Linked DNA regions of Homo sapiens: region 1 is linked to region 2. Evidence: promoter capture Hi-C in human tissues and cell types (Jung and others, 2019). All regions are on one chromosome and are shown on one strand. Each heading gives the region's core, a stretch centred on a gene start or on the middle of the fragment in contact. The rest is flanking DNA. Distances are from core to core; before and after follow the strand shown. Region 1 overlaps MIGA2 (mitoguardin 2). Region 2 holds the start of C9orf50 (chromosome 9 open reading frame 50).

Region 1 (5,330 bases), core at 715-3,214, 570 kb before region 2:
TTTTTCCTTTGAGACAGAGTTTCGCTCTTGTTGCCCAGGCTGGAGTGCAATGGTGCGATCTTGGCTCACTGCAACCTCCGCCTCCCGGGTTTAAGCGATTCTTCTGTCTCAGCCTCCCAAGTAGCTGGGATTATAGGCGCATGCCACCCCATGTGGCTAATTTTTGTATTTTTAGTAGAGATGGGGTTTCATCGTATTGGTCAGGCTGGTCTCGAACTCCTGACCTCAGGTGATCTTGACCTCAGGTGATCTGCCTGCCTCGGCCTCCCAAAGTGCTGGGATTACAGGCGTGAGCTACCGCGCCTGGGCTTTTTTTTCTTTAATACACTTTTTTGGGGACTTTTTGGGCAACATCCAAGTTTTCAACAGTGAATTATTTATTTATTTATTTATTTATTTATTTATTTTTTTTTTTGGAGACGGAGTCTCACTCTGTTGCCAGGCTGGAGTGCAGTGGCGCGATCTCGGCTCAGTGCAACCTCCGCTTCCTGGGTTCAAGAGATTCTCCTGCCTCAGCCTCCCAAGTAGCTGGGATTACAGGTGTGCACCACCACGCCCAGCTAATTTTTGTATTTTTAGTAGAGACGGGGTTTCACCATGTTGGCCAGAATGATCTCCATCTCTTGACCTCATGATCCGCCCGCCTTGGCCTCCCAAAGTGCTGGGATTACAGGCGTGAGCCACCGTGCCTGGCTTATTTATTTATTTATTTATTATTTTATTATTTTTTTTTAAGACGGAGTCTTGCTCTGCCGCCCAGGCTGGAGGTGCAGTGGCGTGATCTCGGCTCACTGCAAGCTCTGCCTCCCAGGTTTACGCCATTCTCTTGCCTCAGCCTCCCCAGTAGCTGGGACTACAGGTGCCTGCCACCATGCCCGGCTAATTTTTTGTATTTTTTAGTAGAGACGGGGTTTCACCATGTTAGCCAGGATGTAATTAATTAATTAATTAATTAATTAATTAGAGACGGAGTCTCACTCTGTTGCCCAGGCTGGTGTCCAGTGGTGCGATCTCGACTCACTGCAAGCTCTGCCTCCTGGGTTCACGCCACTCTCCTGCCTCAGCCTCTGGAGTAGCTGGGACTACAGGTGCCTACCACCACGCCCAGCTAATTTTTTTGTATTTTTAGCAGAGACAGGGTTTCACTGTGTTAGCCAGGATGGGCTTGATCTCCTGACCTCGTGATCCGCCCGCCTCGGCCTCCCAAAGTGCTGGGATTATAGGCGTGAGCCACCGCGCCCAGCCTGTAATTTATTTATTTTTAAGGTGTGGCCTCACTCTGTTTTCCAGGCTGGAGTGCAGTGGCGTGATCTTGGCTCACTGCAGCCTCCACCTCCTGGGTTCAAGCGATTCTGTCTCAGCCTCCTGAGAAGCCAGAGTCAGAGGTGCCTGCCAGCACGCCCGGCTAATTTTTGTATTTTTAGTAGAGATGGGGTTTTACCATGTTGGCCAGGGTGGTCTCGAACTCCTAACTTCAAGTGATCCACCCGCCTCGGCCTCCCAAAGTGCTGGGATTACAGGCTTGAGCCACCACACCCAGCCTACAGTGAATATTTATTATTGCAATATCAGGAAAGGAAAATGAAGTTAAAAGGCTAAAATTTAAATTTTTGTGGCCAGGCACGGTGCCTCACACCTGTAATCCCAGCACTTTGGGAGGCCGAGGCAGGAGGACCAGTTGAGCCCAGGAATTTGAGGGGATGGGGCCACTTTTGGCAGCGGAGGTAGAAGGAGGAGGGAGGATTTCTCTGCCTATTCCTCCCTCACCCTTGCCTTCATTCCTCTACCCGTGTGTCCCATTGGCCGAGAGCCAGCTGGCAGGGGGACCTGGGAAACAGGTTGCAGAACAAGGGGAGGGCTGTGTCTGGCACAGCTGGTAACAAGTTGAAGGTGTCCATGCTCTCTGTCCCTGCTGGGGCGTGAGCTCAGGATGTGAAGGTCAGGGAAATACCTGAGGTTTGAAGTGACTCAAACCCTTGAGTGCCTGCAGTTGCAGCTGCGTCAGGTCCTGTCTGCGAGTCGGCAGGGAACGGGCACCTGTAGGAGTGTGTTGGTGAGGGGGACTCAAGGGAGGTAGCTTTATTTCCCAAATTGTATTTCTTGCTAAAAACTATATCTGAAAATGATAGAATTTGCATTGTTTTCCTTGTTGTGAAAGCAATTACATATTCCTTATCAAATAATGAAAAGTACAGAAATAGGAAAGAGAAGGGGGTGTAAAATAGTCTGATCCCAGACTCTGATCAGACAGCCCATGGTTGTGTGGTGTGGCACCCTCGGCCTCCTGGAGCACTGGCGCTCTGTGGGGGCGCCAGCACCAGCTGTTCAGGCCTGGTCCATAGTAGGTGCTCAGTTAATGATCTGTGGCATATCTACATGCCAGGACGCCTACAACCTTACAATCCTACAAGGGGTGCCTGCAGCCCTTCATCCAGGCATCACCACTTTCTATTCCTTCAGGCATTTTTTTCTGTCTATTGCTATAATTTTTTTTTTTTTTGAGACGGAGTTTCGCTTTTGTTGCCCAGGCTGGAGTGCAGTGGCGCAATCTTGGCTCACTGCAACTTCTGTCTCCCAGGTTCAAGCGATTCTCCTGCCTCAGCCTCCCGAGTAGTTTGGATTACAGGCATGTGTCACCACGCCCGGCTAATTTTTTTTGTATTTTTAGTAGAGATGGAGTTTCACCATGTTGGCCAGGCTGGTTTCTATCTCCTGACCTCAGGTGATCCGCCCGCCTCGGCCTCGCAACGTGCTGAGATTACAGGCATGAGCCACTGCGCCTGGCCTATTGCTATAATTTTTAAACAGTTTTATTGAAATATAGGCTGGGCACAGTGGCTTACACTTGTAATTCCAATACTTTGGAAAGCTGAGGTGGGAGGATTGTTTGAGCCAGTGAGGGAGAAGTTCAAGACCAACCTGGGCAACATAGTGAGACTCTGTCTCAAAAAAATTTTTTCTTGAGACGGGGTCTTACTCTGCTGCCCAGGCTGGAGTGCAGTGGCGTGACCAATTAGCTGGGTGTCATGGCATGTTCCTGTGGTCCCAGCTACTCGGGAGGCTGAGGTGGGAGGATCACCTGAGCCCAGGAGTTCAAGGCTGCAGTGAGCTATGATTGTGCCACTGCACTCCAGCTTGGGCAACCCTGTCTCTACAAAAAGAAAAAGAAAAGATATAATTCACATAGCATCTAAACTGTACAATTGAGTAGCTTTTGGTATATTCACAAAATTGTGTATCTATTATCACAATCAGTTTTGGAGCATTTTTATCCCAATAAGAAACCCCTGGTCCAGCATGGTGGCTCATACCTGTAATCCCAGTGCTTTGGAAGGCCGAGGTGGAGGAAAATTTCTTGAGCCCAGAAATTCAAGACCAGCCTGGGCAGCATAGTGAGAGCCCATCTCTGCAAAAAATTAAAAAGTTAGTTGGGCATGGTGGCGCACACCATGTGGTAGTCCCAGCTACTCAGGAGGCTGAGGCAGTAGGATCCCTTGAGCCCAGAAGGTCAAGGCTGCAGTAAGCCATGATTGTGCCACTGCATTCCAGCCTCTGCAATAGAGTGAGACCCTGTCTCAACAACAACAAAGAAACAACAACAAAGAAACCCCATGTACTTTGGCCATTCCCTTCACATTCCTTCATTTCCCCCCAGCTCTAGGCAACCACAAATCTATTTTCTCTACATCTGGATTTGCCTATCACGGACGTTTCTAGAAATGGGATCACAGAATATGTGGCCTTTTGCGACTGCCTCCTTTCACATAGCAGAGTGCTTCCAAGGTTCATCTGTGTTGCAGCATGAATCACTGTTTTGTTTCTGTTGTATAGATGGACCACATTTTGTTTATTTGTTCATCAGTTGGTAGATATTTGGGTTGCTTCCATTTTTTGGCTCTTATGAATAATGCTGCTGTGAACATTCATGTACAGGTTTTTGTGTGGACATATGTTTTCATTTCTCTTGGGTATATACCTAGGAGTGAAATTGCGGGGATCACATGATAATTCCATGTTTAACTTTTTTTTAAGACGGAGTCTCGCTCTGTCGCCCTGGCTGGCGTGCAGTGGCACAATCTCGGCTCACCACAACCTCCACCCCCCAGGTTCAAACGATTCTCCTGCCTCAACCTCCTAAGTAGCTGGGATTACAGGCGCACGTCACCACGCCTGGCTAATTTTTGTATTTTTTTTCTTTTCTTTTTTTTTTTTTTTGAGATGGAGTCTCGCTCTGTCGCCCAGGCTGGAGTTCAGTGGCGCGATCTTGGCTCACTGCAAGCTCTGCCTCCTGAGTTCATACCATTCTCCTGCCTCAGCCTCCTGAGTAGCTGGGATTACAGGTGCCAGCCACTATGCCCAGCTAATTTTTATATTTTTAGTAGAGACGGGGTTTCTGCGTGTTGGCTAGGCTGGTCTTGAACTCCTGACCTCAGGTGATCCACCTGCCTCGGCCTCCCAAAGTGCTGGGATTACAAGTGTGAGCCGCTGTGCCCAGCCAATTTGTGTATATTTTATGGTAGTAAATGATAAAGACTAGTATCTACATATATTTTATGTATTTGTGACGTATCTTTTTCATAATTTTTTCAGTATCTCTAGGCTAAGTGGGTTCATCTCTGAGGTTTTTCAAATTGTCATAAATTTCCAAAAAATTCTTCTATATACTTATTGAAAAATATCTGGCCAGGGGCCTCGCGCGGTGGCTCACGCCTGTAATCCCAGCACTTTGGGAGGATGAGGTGGGCGATCACGAGGTCAGGAGATCAAGACCATCCTGGCTAACACAGTGAAACCCCGTCTCTACTAAAAATACAAAAAATTAGCCGGGCGTAGTGGCGGGCACCTGTAGTCCCAGCTACTCAGGAGGCTGAGGCAGGAGAATGGCATGAACCTGGGAGGCGGAGCCTGCAGTGAGCTGAGATTGCACCACTGCACTCCAGCCTGGGCGACAGAGCCAGACTCCATCTGAAAAAAAAAAAAAAAATTTGGCCGGGTGCAGTAGCTCACACCTGTAGTCCCAACACTTAGGAGACCAAGGTGGGAGGATCACTTGAGTCTAGGAATTCAAGACCAGCCTGGGCAACATGGTGAGATCCTGTCTCTACAATAAATACAAAAATATTTGCCGAGCGTGGTGGTGGGCACCTGTAGCCCCAGCTACTCAGGAGGCTGAGTTGGGAGGATTGCCTGAGCCCATGATCTCATCACTGCACTGTAGCATGGGCAACAGAGCAAGACCCTGTCTCAAGAAAAAAAAAAAAAAAAAAAACTTATGTTGTTCAAGGGTCACATGTGTATTATTAAAATTAATTTTGCCCATTACTTTGTGC
Region 2 (5,644 bases), core at 2,681-5,180:
ATGCACATAGTTATATGTCTGCATCCATTCATCTGACCACATCTGTATGTCTGTGTAGATGCAGAGGGAATGCTTTTCATCAGCCTCCAAAGAGCCAAGCAGTTGGGAGGTGTCAGGACAGTGCCTGGCTACATGCCTTGGGACCTAGTCATCTAACAGTTGTCTGCTCAGGAACCCCTGCTCTCTGCTGGCTGCTGGGCCAGGCAAAGGCATAACCCAGCTCTGCCCACCTGCCTGAAATCTCAGCATCTTCACTCGAGGGCCACTGGAGCCTGTTCTGAGGCACCACAGTGTCCCCTGCAGGGCCTACCAGGGAATCTCACACACAGTAAGGTGCTCAAGTATTTGCTCTTGAATGTGAAAGTCTGTAACTGTGTTTGTCTCTGCTTTTGCTCACATTTGAGAGAATGAATTCCATACTTTTATTTATTTGTATCTTGTGAGAAGTCATGTGTATATTTGGCCTGATTGGTTGAACGTTCTGAGGTTGGTAAATGTGTTTCACTGTTTTTGTTTGTTTGTTTGTTTTTTGAGACAGGGTCTTGCTCTGTCACCCAGGCTGGAGTGCAGTGGCACGATCTTGGCTCACTGCAGCCTCAACCTCCCAGGCTCAAGCAATCCTCCCACCTCAGCCTCCCGAGTAGCTGGAACCACAGGCATGCACCACCACGCCCAGCTAATTTTTGTAATTTTTGTAGAGACAGGGTTTCACCATGTTACCAAGGCTGGTCTCAAACTCCTGGGCTCAAGCGATCCTCCTGCCTCAGCCTCCCAAAGCACTGGGATTATAGGCATGAGCCACCATGCTTGGCCATGTGTTCCATTTCTAGTTCCTACCCTGATCCATCAGGAGTATCTACCTAGAGTACTGTGTGAGGAATGGTTCTGAGGCTCAGTGGGGAAATATGATCCATTAGTTTTGTCTGCTGTGGGTATGAGATGAGGAAGAATGATATGTTTGTGATGTATTTACTCTCCCTGGTCTTTAAACTCATGGGCAGTGCCATTCACCCTTCACCCCTGCTTAAGCCTGGAGGAATTTTAACCTGGAGGAACTGTTTCTGTCTTCTTTTCCTCCTCTGTTAAAACTATGGTGTCTAGGCCCAGGTAGGTTCCAATTCCTAGGCTCTTCTCTTACCTCCATCCCTTAGTTTTCTCCCAATATTCAACATATAGTAAAACCTAATAAAAGTTAGAGTAAGAAATGGACAAATGATGGTGGGATGGGTAAAATGATGGAAGACTGGGTGGGTGGGTTGATGGGTGGATGGACTGATGGGTGAGTTAATGAAAGGGTCTGAATAGAACTGAACTATGAATGTATGGGTAGATGGACAGATGCGTGGCTGGATGATTATGTAGATGGGTATGTAGGTTTGTGGATGGCTTTATGACTAGATTAGCGATGGACAGTGTCCTGGGTTTACAAGTGGATGGAAGGATTTGTAGATGGTTGGTCATTGGATCAATGGATGGATGGATAGAAGTGTGGGAGTTTTATTTTTTATTTATTTTATTTTATTTTATTTCATTTTTATTTGAGATGGAGTCTCACTCTGTCACCCAGGCTGGAGTGCAATGGCACAATCTCAGCTCACTGCAAGCTCCGCCTCCCGGGTTCACACCATTCTCTCGCCTCAGCCTCCCGAGTAGCTGGGACTACAGGCGCCCGCCACCACGCCCGGCTAATTTTTTGTGTTTTTTTTTTTTTTTTTGTATATTTTTAGTAGAGACGGGGTTTCACCGTGTTATCCAGGGTGGTCTCAATCTCCTAACCTCGTGATCCGCCCACCTCAGCCTCCCAAAGTGCTGGGATTACAGGTGTGAGCCACCGTGCCCTGCCGAAGTGTGGGAGTTTTAGATGGATGACTGGCTAGCTGGTTGGCCAGGTAGATGAATGGATCCACAGGACACCTGATTCATGGGTGGGTGGGTGAGTGAATGTATGGATGGATGGAGTCATGGGTCCATGATAGATTAATGGGTGGACAGAAGGATGGATGGATAGATGGAGAGATTCATGAACGGGTTGTAGAAGACTTGGTTCATGGATGAGATGGATGCAAAGATGGATGGGTGAATGGGAAAATGAATATATGAATAGATTCATGGATGAATTATGTGTTGGTAGAAGACCTCATTAATGGATGGGTTGATTCATTGATGAACTGGCGAATGAATCTTGAATGGGTTGGTAGAAGATCTGATTCACGGACAGCCATATGTAAGGATGGATGAATGGGTAGATAGGTGGATAAATGAATACATTCATGGGCGAAAGAGGAAAGAAAGAAGGAAAGAAATGCCCCTTTCCTCCACTACCCTACCCTTATCCCGCCCATCACTCACTGGTTGGCCTTTCTGACAGTGGTGAATTGTGAGTGATCACCCTTCAGGGGCCCCAGAATAGGTGTCTGCTGGAGCGAAATCTTCGTAAGACTATCCTGGAGGTGCGATGACTGGCCCCTTAAAGACAAACAGGCCACATCTGGCATGAGTGGCCAGGCTGTCCCGCCCTGGAAACATCGATGGCAACCCCGTCCCCACCAAGAAGCGGACTGACGCTTACCACAGGTCTGGGAGGAATGAACAGTTGGGACACCGCGGAGACCCTGGGCAGTGCTCTAATACACCCCTTTGATGTTGCGGTGCTGGGGATGCTGGAGCCAGGAGGAAACAGTTGTGAGCCTTGGCTGGGGGACGGTCCTTTCTAGTCATGTGGCCTCGGGGTGATGGCAGACCAGCCCTCAAGGACGGGTTGCGAGGGCTCTGAGATACTCAGCTAACATTAGCATCCTTCTAGCCTGGGTGGTGGGGTGGTGGGTGCGGGGACACAAGGGACCACCCCCCACCGGAAATGACTCGGGCCCGCCCCCCGGGCCCCGCGGGGCCTCACTCAGTGGCTCCGGCTCCTCGGCGCACTTCTCCTGGAGCTGGTGCAGGAACTCACGGAACCTGCTGGGGAGGAGCTCTCCTAGGAAGGCGCCCAAGAAGTCGGGGTCCTCCCTGGCCACGCGCCTCCGGGGGCGCTCGCGCTCTCCAGGCCCTGGCTGCCTGGGCGCCGATTCCCGGGACGCGCCGGCCGACAGCAGGGGAGGCGGCAGCAGGGACCGCAGCAGCCCCCGCTTCCGCACGGCCCGCCGGGTCGCGGTGAGCAAGGCGGGCAGGCGCGGCGGGAGGCGTCCGACGCCCACCCCGGGCTTGGCGTCCCCTTCCGGCCACCACGCGGCGCCGCCCCCCGGGATCCTCCAGTCCCCGGAGCCCCGCGCGCCCAGAGCCGCTCGGAGCGCGGGCGGGGTCAGCTTGGGCAGCCGCGGGTCGCTGCTGCGTCGGAAGTCTCCGTCGCCAGGGAGCCCCTTGGGCGCCAGGTCCTGGGCCCCTGGGCGAAGTCGACGCCAGAACATGCTTGGCCCCGCACTCAGCTCACCGCACCCTCAGCGCGCGTGGGTGGGGGGCGCCGGCTGAGGTGGGGAGGGCATAGTCCAGCCCCAGGCCATAGTGCCCCGGGCGGGGCAGCGCGGTGCGGGGTGAACGCCACCGGCCCGGCGGACAGCGAGTGGCTTCAGGCGAGAGCTCCCAGAGCCTCTGTTTCCTCACCTGAAAAATGGTGACAGCAAGAGTAGCCAACTTTGGGGGTTGCTGTGACGTTTAAATGAGCAAGTACATGCCAGTCTTAGAACAGCAAGCTCGGTACAGTGCCAGGCACGCTGGCCAAGCTTACACATAGACTAGCTGCCATTCTTAGTATTTCAAAGTTATTATTATTTAGGATTTAGTCCCAGCTCCACCACTTATTAGCTTTGTAACCTTGGCCAAGCCAATTAACTTCCCTCTGCCTTCCCTGGGGGCTCTGGTCTGCAGAATGGGGATAATAGCAGCACCTGCCTCTCTGCAGCCGTGAAACGGCATCACCGCATCACCGCTGGTAGAGAGAGCACTTAGCCTGCCTTGCAGTGTTCAAAGCGTGGAACTGTTACCGTCATTAGCGCTCTACTGGGAATTAGGAAACCTGGAACCAGCTTGAGGGAAGAGAGACCTGACCAGCAGCCTCCCAGCCCTGGTGCTGCCTCAGAGACCCCTGGGTGGGGAGCCTGTTGAAAATACAGATGACTTACCCCCAGCCCCCATTCTGATTCAGTACGTCTCTGCTGGAGCCAAGACAGTTTGTTGTTCTTGTTGTTGTTGTTAAAGAGATGGGGTCTTGCTAAGACGGGGTCCTGCTGTCACCCAGGCTGGAGTGCAATGGCACCATCATAGCTCACTGCAGCCTCAAATTCTTGGGCTCAAGTGATCCTCCTGCCTCAGCCTCCTGAGTAGCTGGGACTACAGGCACACACCACCACAGTTGGCTAATTTTTGTATATTTTGTAGAAATGGGGTAGAATTTTTTTGTATTTATGTTGCACGGGCTGGTCTTGAACTCCTGGGCTCAAGTGATCCACTTGCCTTGGCCTCCCAAAGTGCTGGGATCACAGGCGTGAGTCCCCACTTCTGGCCAAGACACAGACTTTTAACAAACTCCCCCTTTGGGAGGCAGAGCCCCAGTCTTACTCCCAGCTCTGACACTGAGGGGTTTCTAAGCCTGCTTCCTCCCAACCACACCCCACTCCCAGATTGTTGTCAGCTCTGAGCTGACTCCTGGGCAGTGTCACACTCACCCTGGTGGGCTTCTGGGTGGGGCCCTAGAAGGTCCTGTGAGTTTAGAGCTCTCTACAGGCAGGCTGTAGAGCCCATCATCCCTGCCTGGTGCCTCTCCCAGCCCCTCCCGGCTGCCTCTGGGCCGCTTCAGGGTCATTGTGATCCGCCCCTCACCCCTGGGCATCTGAGTAGCAGTGGGCACTGAGGCCTGGGGACTAAGGGTGGGGCTATTGTGCCCTGGATGCCCTGGCCGCAGCCACCTGGGGCACTGGGACTCTGACCAGGGCAGCCAGGCCTACCCTTTCCAGATCTGGGAGGCTTAGGCTGGGTGGCTCTGGAAGTAGAACTTCCACCCCAAGACCAGGCAGTCAGAATACAATGGACCTAGAAATGAACAGACCCTGCGGGGCACGGTGTCTCACGCCTGTAATCCCAGCACTTTGGGAGGCCGAGGCGGGCGGATCACCTGAGGTCAGAAGTTCAATACCAGCCTGGCCAACATGGTGAAACCTCGTCTCTACAAAAAATACCAAAATTTGCCATGCATGGTGTTGTGCACCTATAATCCCAGCTACTTGGGAGGCTGAGACAGGAGAATCGCTTGACCCTGGGAGGCGGAGGTTGCAGTGAGCTGAGATCATGCCACTGCACTCCAGCCTGGGTGACAAAGCGAGACTCCATCTCAAAAATAATAATAATAATAATCCAAGGTCTGGGTGCTAGGTGTGCTTCTTGCTATTGAGATGTCATTTCTTTCAGGCAGTCTCAGCTGACAAAGAAATGTGTGTGTATACTATGAAACACACACATATCTATAAATATTTCTATAGGTAACCATCTGTACTTATATTAAGCTAAACATGAGCTCATGCTGACATCTCCAACTCTAATCCGTTACACAGATCATTTGAGACTCTGTCTCACAAAAAAAAAAGAGGCCAGGTTCCAGTGGCTCATACCTGTAATCCTAACACTTTGGGAGACCGAGGCAGGTGGATTGCCTGAG

The links. Contacts are between HindIII fragments. The study calls those that stand out against the background at their distance.
Region 1: a contact is called between a fragment that was not itself captured here and the fragment with the promoter of C9orf50 in region 2, in 1 of the 25 tissues and cell types used here (spleen).

What each region holds. Positions count from the first base shown.
Region 1 is chr9:129,050,881-129,056,210 of GRCh38, forward strand. The region is part of intron 6 of MIGA2 (mitoguardin 2); the gene reads left to right. Among named protein-coding and RNA genes, the nearest start is that of MIGA2, 17 kb to the left of the region's middle. The HindIII fragment of the contact is 8,197 bases long and covers 1-5,330 here.
Region 2 is chr9:129,617,171-129,622,814 of GRCh38, forward strand. It overlaps C9orf50 (chromosome 9 open reading frame 50), which reads right to left and starts at 3,931. Exons shown (of 7, transcript NM_199350.4): 1 at 2,897-3,931; 2 at 2,570-2,660; 3 at 2,350-2,466. The coding sequence starts at 3,404. It also overlaps a transcript of NTMT1 not described here. RefSeq lists an enhancer at 3,393-4,043. The HindIII fragment of the contact is 8,954 bases long and covers 1-5,479 here.